Regions from separate parts of the Homo sapiens genome. Here region 1 is linked to region 2. Evidence: promoter capture Hi-C in human tissues and cell types (Jung and others, 2019). All regions are on one chromosome and are shown on one strand. The core of a region is centred on a gene start or on the middle of the fragment in contact, and the rest is flanking DNA. Distances in the headings are between cores, read along the strand shown.

Region 1 (5,075 bases), core at 1,018-3,517, 530 kb after region 2:
GAACACAAAAGTAATATATGTCAATGGTAGAAAATTTTTCAACTATAAAAAATTATAAAGAAGAAAATAATAAACATTCATAATTCAAACCTAAAGATAACCACATCTTTTTCTTGGTATCTTCCATGGGATAATCACATTTAATTCAGTTTCAATGAATAATATTTACAAAACTAAGATCATACTATATGGTTTTTTTTGAAGATAGGGTCTCATTCTGTTGCCTAGGCTGGAGTGCAGTGGCACAGTCACAGGTTAGTGCAGCTTCAGCCTCCCCAGGCTCAGGTGATCCTCCCACCTAAGCCTCCTGAGTAGCTGGGACTATAGGCGTGTGCTGTCAGGCCCGGCTAATTTTTGTATTTTCTGTAGAGGCAAGGTTCCATTATGTTGCCCAGGCTGGTCTCGAACTCCTGAACTCAAGTGATCCGCCCACCTTGGCCTCCCAAAGTGCAGGGATTACAGGGATGAGCCACCATGCCTGGCCTATATGTCTTATTTGTATTTCATTTTTTTCTTAACATTATGCAGATTTTTTCCATGCCAATAAATGTTTGTAGACCTATTTGTTTATAGCCTACATATGATTCAAACTCTGAGGATGACCCTGAGTTTCTCCTTTGAGAAGACCTATTTTTAAAGGAAGGGGTGCTTGTAGTGGGCCAAAGCTGCCTGAATAGAAAGCTACTGACTTGCTGGGAGAATGATATTTCTTACTCTCTTCTAACAGTATATTTCTGCCGGATAAGTATATTTCTTATAATCAAAATAGCATTTGATGGTGGTACGTACATCCAGTGCTTCAAATTTAAACCCTTACCTGTATATATTTCCCTTTGGCAGGTAAATACACTGAGTAAAGAGCTACATTCAGAGTTCTCAGAAGTTATGAATGAAATCTGGGCTAGTGATCAAATCAGAAGTGCCGTCCTTATCTCATCAAAGCCAGGCTGCTTTATTGCAGGTGCTGATATCAAGTAAGTTTTAGGAAACTTGAAGTCACCTTTTATCTTGGTTAATAGTGTGTTTCTTAGGCCTAATAATTTCTCCTTTTAAAAGAAAGTAGAAGTGCTGGGCACAGTGACACAGGCCTGTAAAATTGAAAATGTACGTATCAGGCTGGGTGTGGTGGTTCTTGCCTGTAATCCCAGCACTTTGGGAGGCCGAGGCAGGTGGATCACATGAGGCCAAGAGCTCAAGACCAGCCTGGCCAACATGGTGAAACCCTGTCTCCACTAAAAATACAAAAATTAGGCATGGTGGCACACGCTTGTAATCTCAGCTACTCAGGAGGCTGTGGCACGAAAATCCCTTGAACCTGGGAGGCAGAGGTTGCAGTGAGCCGAGATCACACCACTGCACTCCAGCCTGGGTGACAGAGTGAGACTGTCTTAAAAAAAAAAAGTATATACACACACACACACACACACACACACACACACACACACACAGAGTATATATATATATATATACACACACACACACACACACATCATGTGATCTAGAGAAATCTCACCCCTTGTTTATAAGAACCAGTGTACAAGGATGTTTGGTCCTGTGTAGTGTGAAATAATGAAGAATTTAAAACCAAATGTCAGTCAGTAGGAAAATGGGTAAGTAAAATGTGGACTATTCACACAATAGAATACTACAAAACAGGTAAAAGGAATTAACTAGATCCACAATATGATGTTAGAACTCAAAAACATAAGGTTAAGTTAAAAGAAAAGCAAATTGCAGAATGTTTCATACAGTATATAGTTTCTATAAATGTTTTAAAACCAAACATGGAATAATTCTTGATACTATTTATGGACACAATCGTAGTTGGTCTGGAAGGAGACACTACAAACATGAAGATGGCTGCTTTGGGGAAATGAAGTGGGTGGTAGGACTTGATTGTTAAAGGCAGCTTTACAGATGCAGCTAGTATTTTCTTTTCCTCTGCTAAATGGTGGAATGCATGCCTACATTAACTTATTTACAATTGTTTACACATACATAAGGAGGGGAAATGATATTTTAGTGTCAGTTTAATAGGTTAAAATGTTAAGTTGTCAATTCCATTAAAATATGGGTATTTGTTATGTTCTTTGTATTTTAGACAATGATAGCCAGCATTGTAGGTTTAGTAATTTGTACTGAAAGTGTAATTATTTATGTGTAGTAATCAGTCTCTTGTTAGGCACAAATAATTCAGCTAGAAGAAAAACCACTTGATAAGATAATTTTGGGTCTTCTAAAAAATTAACATTAAACAGAACATTTATAAAGTCTAACAAGACACTGATGTACCTGGCAGTAGCTACCTATATCCAGAGGAAAATACATGTAGCTTCTATGAGGCCAGCTGAGCAACTCTCAGTGTATAAAATTACAGAATATACTAGTTATCCTTGGTCAAAAGTACAAAATCCATATCCTAAGTGTGTTCACAAAATAGCAAATGAAACAAACTGAAATTAAAGGACATTGAGTGGAACATCATTGCACCTGATCATTTTTATTTACTTATTTATTTTTGAGACGGAGTCTCCCTCTGCTGTCCAGGCTGGAGTACAGTGGTGCGATCTCGGCCCACTGCAACCTCCACCTCCCAGGTTCCAGTGATTCTCTCGCCTCAGCCTCCCGAGTAGCCAGGACTACAGGAATGCAGCACCACGCCCAGCTAATTTTTGTATTTTTAGTAGAGACGCGGTTTCACCATGTTGACCAGCCTGGTCTCGAACTCCTGACCTCAGGTGATCCACCTGCCTTGGCCTCTCAAAGTGCTGGGATTACAGGCATGAGCCACCATGCCTGGCCTACCTGGTCATTTTTATTCATTAGTGGGATCTGTTAAAATGTTTTAGATTTCTCTAAACAACCTGGAAGCTTTTCTTTTGCGTCATTTTTATTGCTGTTAACTACCTGATAGTGAAATGTTTAATCTGATAGTGAAGTAATTTACCAAAGATGATTTTCCCTTGTACCAAGCTTTGTAATTTAATGATTTATTACAGAAGTAAAAATAAATTATGCAACACATTTATGTTTTCTGGATCCAGAATTTTTTTTTTTTTTTTTGAGACAGAGTCTCACTCTGTCGCCCAGGCTGGAGTGCAGTGGCGCGATCTCGGCTCACTGCAAGCTCCACCTCCCGGTTTCACACTGTTCTCCTGCCTCAGCCTCCCAAGTAGCTGGGACTACAGGCGCCCGCCACTATGCCCAGCTAATTTTTTGTATTTTTAGTAGAGACGGGGTTTCACCGTGTTAGCCGGGATGGTCTCATGGATCCAGAAGTTTAACACTCTTTATGGAGAAATGATGTTGCTGCTATTGTGCTATTTGAAGCAAAATCATTCTTAACCTTCTATTTGAAGATTTGTCATCAAATATTGATGCATGATAGGATAAGTGTATAGTGAATAAGTATTGAACCAAATAAATTATAGTTTTATCTTTTTCTCTGTTCTCTACTTTTATGGATAATGCAGCATGTTAGCCGCTTGCAAGACCCTTCAAGAAGTAACACAGCTATCACAAGAAGCACAGAGAATAGTTGAGAAACTTGAAAAGTCCACAAAGCCTATTGTGGCTGCCATCAATGGATCCTGCCTGGGAGGAGGACTTGAGGTATAGATATTCTAAAGTTATTGAGACACTGTCCAACTCATTGGTGGCATTCATCAGCTGTAAACCCTTAGGCTACTGCTTTGCCTGGAAAAAGTTTCTGGAGGAGAATCCGCTTTGTTTTTTGTTTTTTGCTTTGAGACGGAATTTTGCTCTTGTCTCCCAGGCTGGAGAGCAATGGCACGATCTTGGCTCACTGCAACCTCTGCCTCCTGGCTTCAAACAATTCTCCTGCTTCAGCCTCCCCAGTAGCTGGGATTACAGGTGTGCATCACCATGCCCAGCTAATTTTTGTATTTTTAGTAGAGATGGGGTTTCACCATGTTGGCCAGGCTGGTCTCAAACTCCTGACCTCAGGTGATCCTCCCGCCTCGGCCTCCCAAAGTGCTGGGATTACAGGTGTGAGCCACTGTGCCTAAATAGCTTTGTTTTTAGTTATCAAACTTCTGGATAGGTGTTAATCCTTAATCCACATGACACAGAGCAAGTGGCACAAAGCAAGTAAATGAAGGTGTGATGTTTTCATTTGAACTGCATCTCTAATGTCCTTTTCAGCTGTAAAAATCTTGTTCAAGTTTGCAGGGCAAAGATTCAGAAGTGTGATCTAGGCTCTTAAGCTACTTAAGTCTGGTTGAGACACATAAAGCATAATATAAGTGCTTTGTCAGTAGTAAAGACGGTAAATAATAGAAGATTTGAGAGAAGAGATGCTTACTAGACCCGAACATGTAGGAAAGAAAAGAAGGGGAAAAGGAAACATTCATTGAGCACTTTTCACATGCTGAACTCTGTGCCAGACACTTTCACATATGCAGTCATTTACCACATAACGTTTCAATGACCAATTGCACATACAGCAGTGGTTCTATAAGACTGTAACACTACATTTTTCTATACCTTTTCTGTGTTTAGATACAGAAATGCTTATCACTGTGCCACAGTTGCCTACAGTATTCAATAGTCACATGCAGTCCAGGTTTGTAGCCCCTTAGGACAGGGGTCCCCAGTTCCCAGGCCATAGCCTGTTAGGAACTGGGCCCCACAGCAGGAGGTGAGCAGTGGGCGAGTGAACATTACCACCTGAGTTCCGCCTCCTGTCATATCAACAGTGGCATTAGATTCTCATAAGAGCTGGAACCCTGTTGTGAACTGCACATGAGAGGGATCCAGGTTGCGCACTCCATTGGCCTCTATTGCCTGATGATTTGAAGTGGAACAGTTTCATCCTGAAACCACTCCCTCCCACCCCACCCCCAGTTCTTGGAAAAATTGCCTTTCACAAAACCTGTCCCTGGCGTCAAAAAGGTTGGGGACTGCTGGACTAGGAGCAATAGGCTATCCCATATAGCCTAGATGTGTAGCAGGCTCTGCCATCTGGGTTTGTGTAAGTACACTCTGCGATGTTCACACAACAACAAAATTTCCTAATGGTACATTTCTCAGAACATATCCCCCTCATTATGTGA
Region 2 (5,116 bases), core at 974-3,473:
CCTGTCTCAGCCTCCCAAGTAGCTGGGACTACAGGTGCGCACTACCACGCCCAGCTAATTTTTGTATTTTTAGTAGAGATGCAGTTTCACCATATTGGTCAGGCTGGTTTCAAACTCCTGACCTCAAGTGATCCAGCCGCTTCTGCCTCCCAAAGTGCTGGGATGACAGGCGTAAGCCACCGCGCCGGGCCAGAAATGTGATTTCAAATCCATACTTCACATCGGGGTGCATGCAGCTGCTCCCACATGTTCTTTCTCCCTAAGAGTATCCCTTCTTGTGGTTTGACCTTAGAACACTGTTTAGGGTCCAATTTGGGGGCCCATCTTGGGGTGGGAGGATCCTGAGAGGCCCCACACCAGCTGTCAGGCAGGGGACAGGACCAAAAGTTGGGTCTGTCACCTGGGAGCCTCTTTCCTGACTCTCAGGCAGCCTTTAAAGGCGACGCCTTCTGGGATTGAGGATCTCTAAGCTTCCTACCTGACTGGTTTGGAGTTTTCTAAGGAAGGAGGTGAATCAGCACAGTTTACCCCAGCAGTAACTGGCAATCTGGATTCTCCTTGTGGGCAGCAGCCCTGGTGGACTTACAACCGCTCTCTAAGCACTTGACAGAGGCCCTGGCTGGCATGACAGAACAGAAGACTTGCTTTGCTGTGTTCAGATCCTGAGATGGGAGCCCTCAGGCTGGGGCCTCTGAACAGCTAAGGATTCAGCATGAGGAGTGATCCTCAGGAGGATGCAGGGCCTGGGAAGCTAGTAGTTCTCCACAAGGCACAGTTGGCCAGAGGTGAACCAGAGGAACAGGTGGGGCCCACCCAGGACTCCACTGACTGTGCCCACCGTTTGGGGAAGGGAGAACACTGTGACTGTCGTGTGCGTACACGTCTGTCTCCTCCACCTCAGATTCCAAGCATCTCAAAGGCAGAGATCGCCTCTTGGTCACTTCTGTCCCCTTCCCTTACACACCGTAGGTACCTTATACATGGGATCGTGCCATTGCACTCCAGCCTGGGCAACAAGAAAAGGAGGGGCAGGAAGGCCCTGCCCTGAGATGGAGACAGAGAGAGACAAAGAAATGCCATCCTGCCCACAACAGAGGGGAGGCTAGGCCCTGTCCCTCAGTCTCATGACTGCCTGGGTCCTTAGTCCCTAACCTCCTGGGAACTGTCCCCCCTCTCACCCCCATACATCAGAGCTGAACTGGCCACTTGCCCTCTCTGTCTGAGTTAATGGCACTTTTCTTCTCCCAGGCAGAAACCCTGGAGTGATCCTTGTTTCTTGCTCATGTGGGTCAGGCCTGTGGCCATTCACACCTGGTCTCTGCCACCAGTTGTCCCTTCCTTTCTCTTCTCACTGCCACCTCCTAGTTCCCCTCATCTGCTATGCAGCAGCCTTGGAGTGGTTTTTCCTGCACCAAACCACTCCTCATGTCATTGAGTCAATCATATCACTTTCAACATGTCATTCCCCAGCTCAAAAGCACTTTTCTGATTATGAGAGAAAATCTAACCTGGGCATTTGATGCTGGTTACAATCGACTTTGATCTGGCCTTTCCGTAGACTTTCCTTGACTTACAGTCTCAGACACATTCCGAAATCCCACCTAAGCTTCAAAGCACAGCTCTAACCCCTCATCCTTGAGGGGCCGTGGGGCACCTCCCTGTCTGCCGCTTGAGGCCTCCACGCTCACTGGGTCACTCGGCCTGCACAGCCACTACTGCGGCTCATGTGCACAAGTCCAGGGGTCTCTCCCAGCTCGTGGAGGGAGGTGCTCAGGCTTGGACGCCAGCACTGGAAGGGCCGTGGAAAGGAATCGGCCAACCCTCCTGTTAAAAGACGTGGAAACAGGAGCGGAGGCTGTACAGCAAATCAAAGCCGGGGCTCGGATCCCCCCGTCCGGGGCGCAGCCCCGCTCCGCATTTCCCCGGGCCTCGCATCCCTTGGGTGGTCATAACGCGCGCGAACTGACCGGAGCAAGTGGGAAAGCAGGGGAAGCCAGGAGGGCAGGGCCAAGAAGGGGGAAGGCGTAGAACGAGCGCCGGGGTCGCCAGGGCCCGCACGCCCGGCAGGGCCCAGACTCACTTTGCCGAGAGCGTGTTGATGGAGCCGGTAACAAGCATGAGCCCGGCCAGGAACAGCTGGTACTTGGTCCAGGCCATGTCGGCGGACGCTGGGGTTCGCTCCAGTTAGCGGCGCCGGGCCCCGTCACCCGGGGTCTCCTGCGCGAGCGCTTCCGGGCCGGGCGTCACGTGACCCCTCCTGCTCGCCCCGCCCCCGGGGAGCGCGCCTGAGCCACGGTGCCCGCGCTCTGCCGAGTCGTCCTGGAGCGCTTTGGTGGCCACGCCGTGGCCCTGGCAAATCACGGCCCAGGCCTTCCAGTTTTTTTTTTCTTTTCTTCCTCACTCTCCCCCGCCTTTTTGGGTTTCTTTTTTCTATTTTTTTGAGAAGGAGTCTCACTCTGTCGCCCAGGCTGGAGTGCAATGGCATGATCTCGGCTCACTGCAATATCCGCCTCCTGGGTTCAAGCGATTCTCCTGCTTCAGCCTCCCGAGTAGCTCGGATTACAGGCGCCCTTCACCACGCCCGGCTAATTTTTTGTATTTTTAGTAGAGACAGGGCTTCACCATGTTGGCCAGGCTGGTCTCGAACTCCCGACCTCAGGTGATCCGCCCTCCTCCGCATCCCAAAGTATTGGGATTACAGGCGTGAACCACCGCGCCTGGCCTTGGTTTCTTATTTTTATCTTTGGGTCTTCCTATTTGTAAAAGGGGCGGATGGGACAGTGCAGTGAGGGTGCATCGTGGCTATTACAGCATTTTGTGAATCGTTTTGAGAGGTTGAGCTGGGCGGTGTCAGAAAGGAGCCCTGAAGTGGGCCTGCCGGGAGTTCCTTGGGGACCCTGTAGAGAGGAGATTCCCACGCTGGACGTTTCCACTTCGGGGCTCCTATCTGATACCGCCCACCTTGGGCACAGTTCATATCTTTCAGCAAAGTGGCGAAGGCATCTAGCTCCAGTTGCCGAGGACACCATTTTATAGCTGAGGACAGTAAATTCAGCGAAGCAGAGTGATTTGCTTAAGAACCTGCTGGTGAGCAGTGGGGTAGGGATTTGCGCTTGGGTTCTCCAGTCTCCAAAAATCCGTGCCTTCCGCATGGCCTCTGCACCAAGCCCTGCTTCACTGCTCCTTTGTGGACTTTCTGGTCGCAGCTGAGGCATCCAGGCAGAAAGACCATCCCTAGGTTTGTTTGAAGAGGGTGTTGACGAAGAGTCACACTCTAAAATATTTGAAGGGATTTATTCTGAGCCAAATATTTGTGACCATGGCCCGTGACACAGCCCTCAGGAGGTCCTGAGAACATGTGCCCAAAGTGGTCGGGGCGCAGCATTTTAGAAAGACACGAGACATCAATCAAATACATTTAAGAAATACATTGGTTTGGTCCAGAAAGGTAGGACAACTCAAAGCCGGGAGGAGGGGAGAGGGTGGGGCAGGAAACGGGAAAAATATCTATCTATGTTAATAGAGATTTTTGTTTTTTTTTGAGACGGAGTCTTGCTCTGTCGCCCAGGCTGGAGTGCAGTGGTGCGATCTCGGCTCACTGCAACCTCCACCTCCCGGATTCAATCAGTTCTCTGCCTCAGCCTCCCAAGTAGCTGGGACTACAGGTGCCTGCCACCACGCCTGGCTAAATTTTGTATTTCTAGTAGAGATGGGGGGGGTCTCACCATGTTGGCCAGGCTGGTCTTGAACTCCTGATCCACCTGCCTCGGCCTCCCAAAGTGCTGGGATTACAGGCGTGATCCGCCACGCCCGGCCGGTAATAGAGATTCTTTACAGATGCAAATTTTCCCCCACAAAAGACAGATTTGCAGGGCCATTTCAAGATATGGCAAAGAAAAATGTTTTGGGGTAAAATCTTTTGACTTTCTTCTTAGTCACATAATATTATGCCAGAGTCAGATTGGAAAGTAAGTCATGATATATAGGGTTAAATAAAACCCATCTGATGAGAATTTATGGTTTGTAGGGCATGACTCTCCAGACCTCTTAGGTAGGAATTTGGGCAAGGTAAAAAAAATCAGAGCTTAGTCCTCAAGGGGTTCTGGTGTTTAAAATCCTACTCTTGGCTGGGTGTGGTGGTTCACACCTATAATCCTAGCACTTTGGGAGGCTGAAGCGGGCTGATTGCTTGAGCTCAGGATTTCCAGACAAGCCTGGGCAACATGGCAAAACTCAGTCTCTACTAAAAATGCAAAAATTAGCTGAGTGTCATGACAAGTACCCATAATCCCAGCTACTCAGGAGGCTAAGTAGGAGGATCGCTTGAGTCCCTGGAGGTGGAGGTTGCAATGAACTGAGATCATGCCACTATACTCCGGCCTGGGTGGCAAAGTGACACCCTGTCTTAAAAAAAGAAAAAAAAAAGGCCAGGCGCGGTGGCTCGCACCTGTAATCCCAGCACTTTGGGAGGCTGAGGCAGGTGGATCACCTGAGGTCGGAATTCAAGATCAGCCTGACCAACATGGTGAAACCCCATCTCTACTAAAATACAAAAAATTAGCCAGGTGTGGGGGTGCATGCTTGTAATCTCAGCTACTCCGGAGGCTGAGGCAGGAGAATCGCTTGAACCTGGGAGATGGAAGTTGCAGTGAGCCAAGATCGAGCCATTGCACTCCAGCCTGGGCAACAAGCGCGAAAACTCCATCTCAAAAAAAAAAAAAAAAAGAAAGAAAAAGAAAAGAAAAAACTGCTCCTAATATGCCTTTCCCAGTGCTCTAGTCTGCACCCATGCCCTGTCACGCCAGCGACAAGATCCTTTTGTTACCAGAAAGGGGTTCTGATCCAGACCTCAAGAGAGGGTTCTTGGACCTGGCACCTTGCGGGGAATCCATAAAGTGAAAACAAGTTTATTAAGAAAGTAAAGGATAAAGAATGGCTACTCCATTGGCAGAGCAGCCCCGAGGGCTGCTGATTGGTTATTTTTATGGATATTTCTGGATTATATGCCAAACAAGGGGTGGATTATTCATGAGTTTTCTGGGAAAGGGGTGGGCAATTGCCAGAACTAAGTGTTCCTCCCCTTTTTAGACCATGTAGGTTAACTTCCAGTTGCTAC

The links. Contacts are between HindIII fragments. The study calls those that stand out against the background at their distance.
Region 1: a fragment that was not itself captured here is called in contact with the fragment with the promoter of SLC35F6 in region 2 in 1 of the 25 tissues and cell types used here (mesenchymal stem cells).

Annotation. Positions count from the first base shown.
Region 1 is chr2:26,232,754-26,237,828 of GRCh38, reverse strand. It overlaps HADHA (hydroxyacyl-CoA dehydrogenase trifunctional multienzyme complex subunit alpha), which reads left to right. Exons shown (of 20, transcript NM_000182.5): 4 at 841-974; 5 at 3,474-3,612. Among named protein-coding and RNA genes, the nearest start is that of HADHA, 9.3 kb to the left of the region's middle. The HindIII fragment of the contact is 5,257 bases long and covers 1-4,895 here.
Region 2 is chr2:26,761,391-26,766,506 of GRCh38, reverse strand. SLC35F6 (solute carrier family 35 member F6) reads right to left here and starts at 2,223. Exons shown (of 6, transcript NM_017877.4): 1 at 2,081-2,223. The coding sequence starts at 2,157. RefSeq lists a silencer at 2,047-2,356 and an enhancer at 2,367-2,566. The HindIII fragment of the contact is 8,469 bases long and covers 1,039-5,116 here.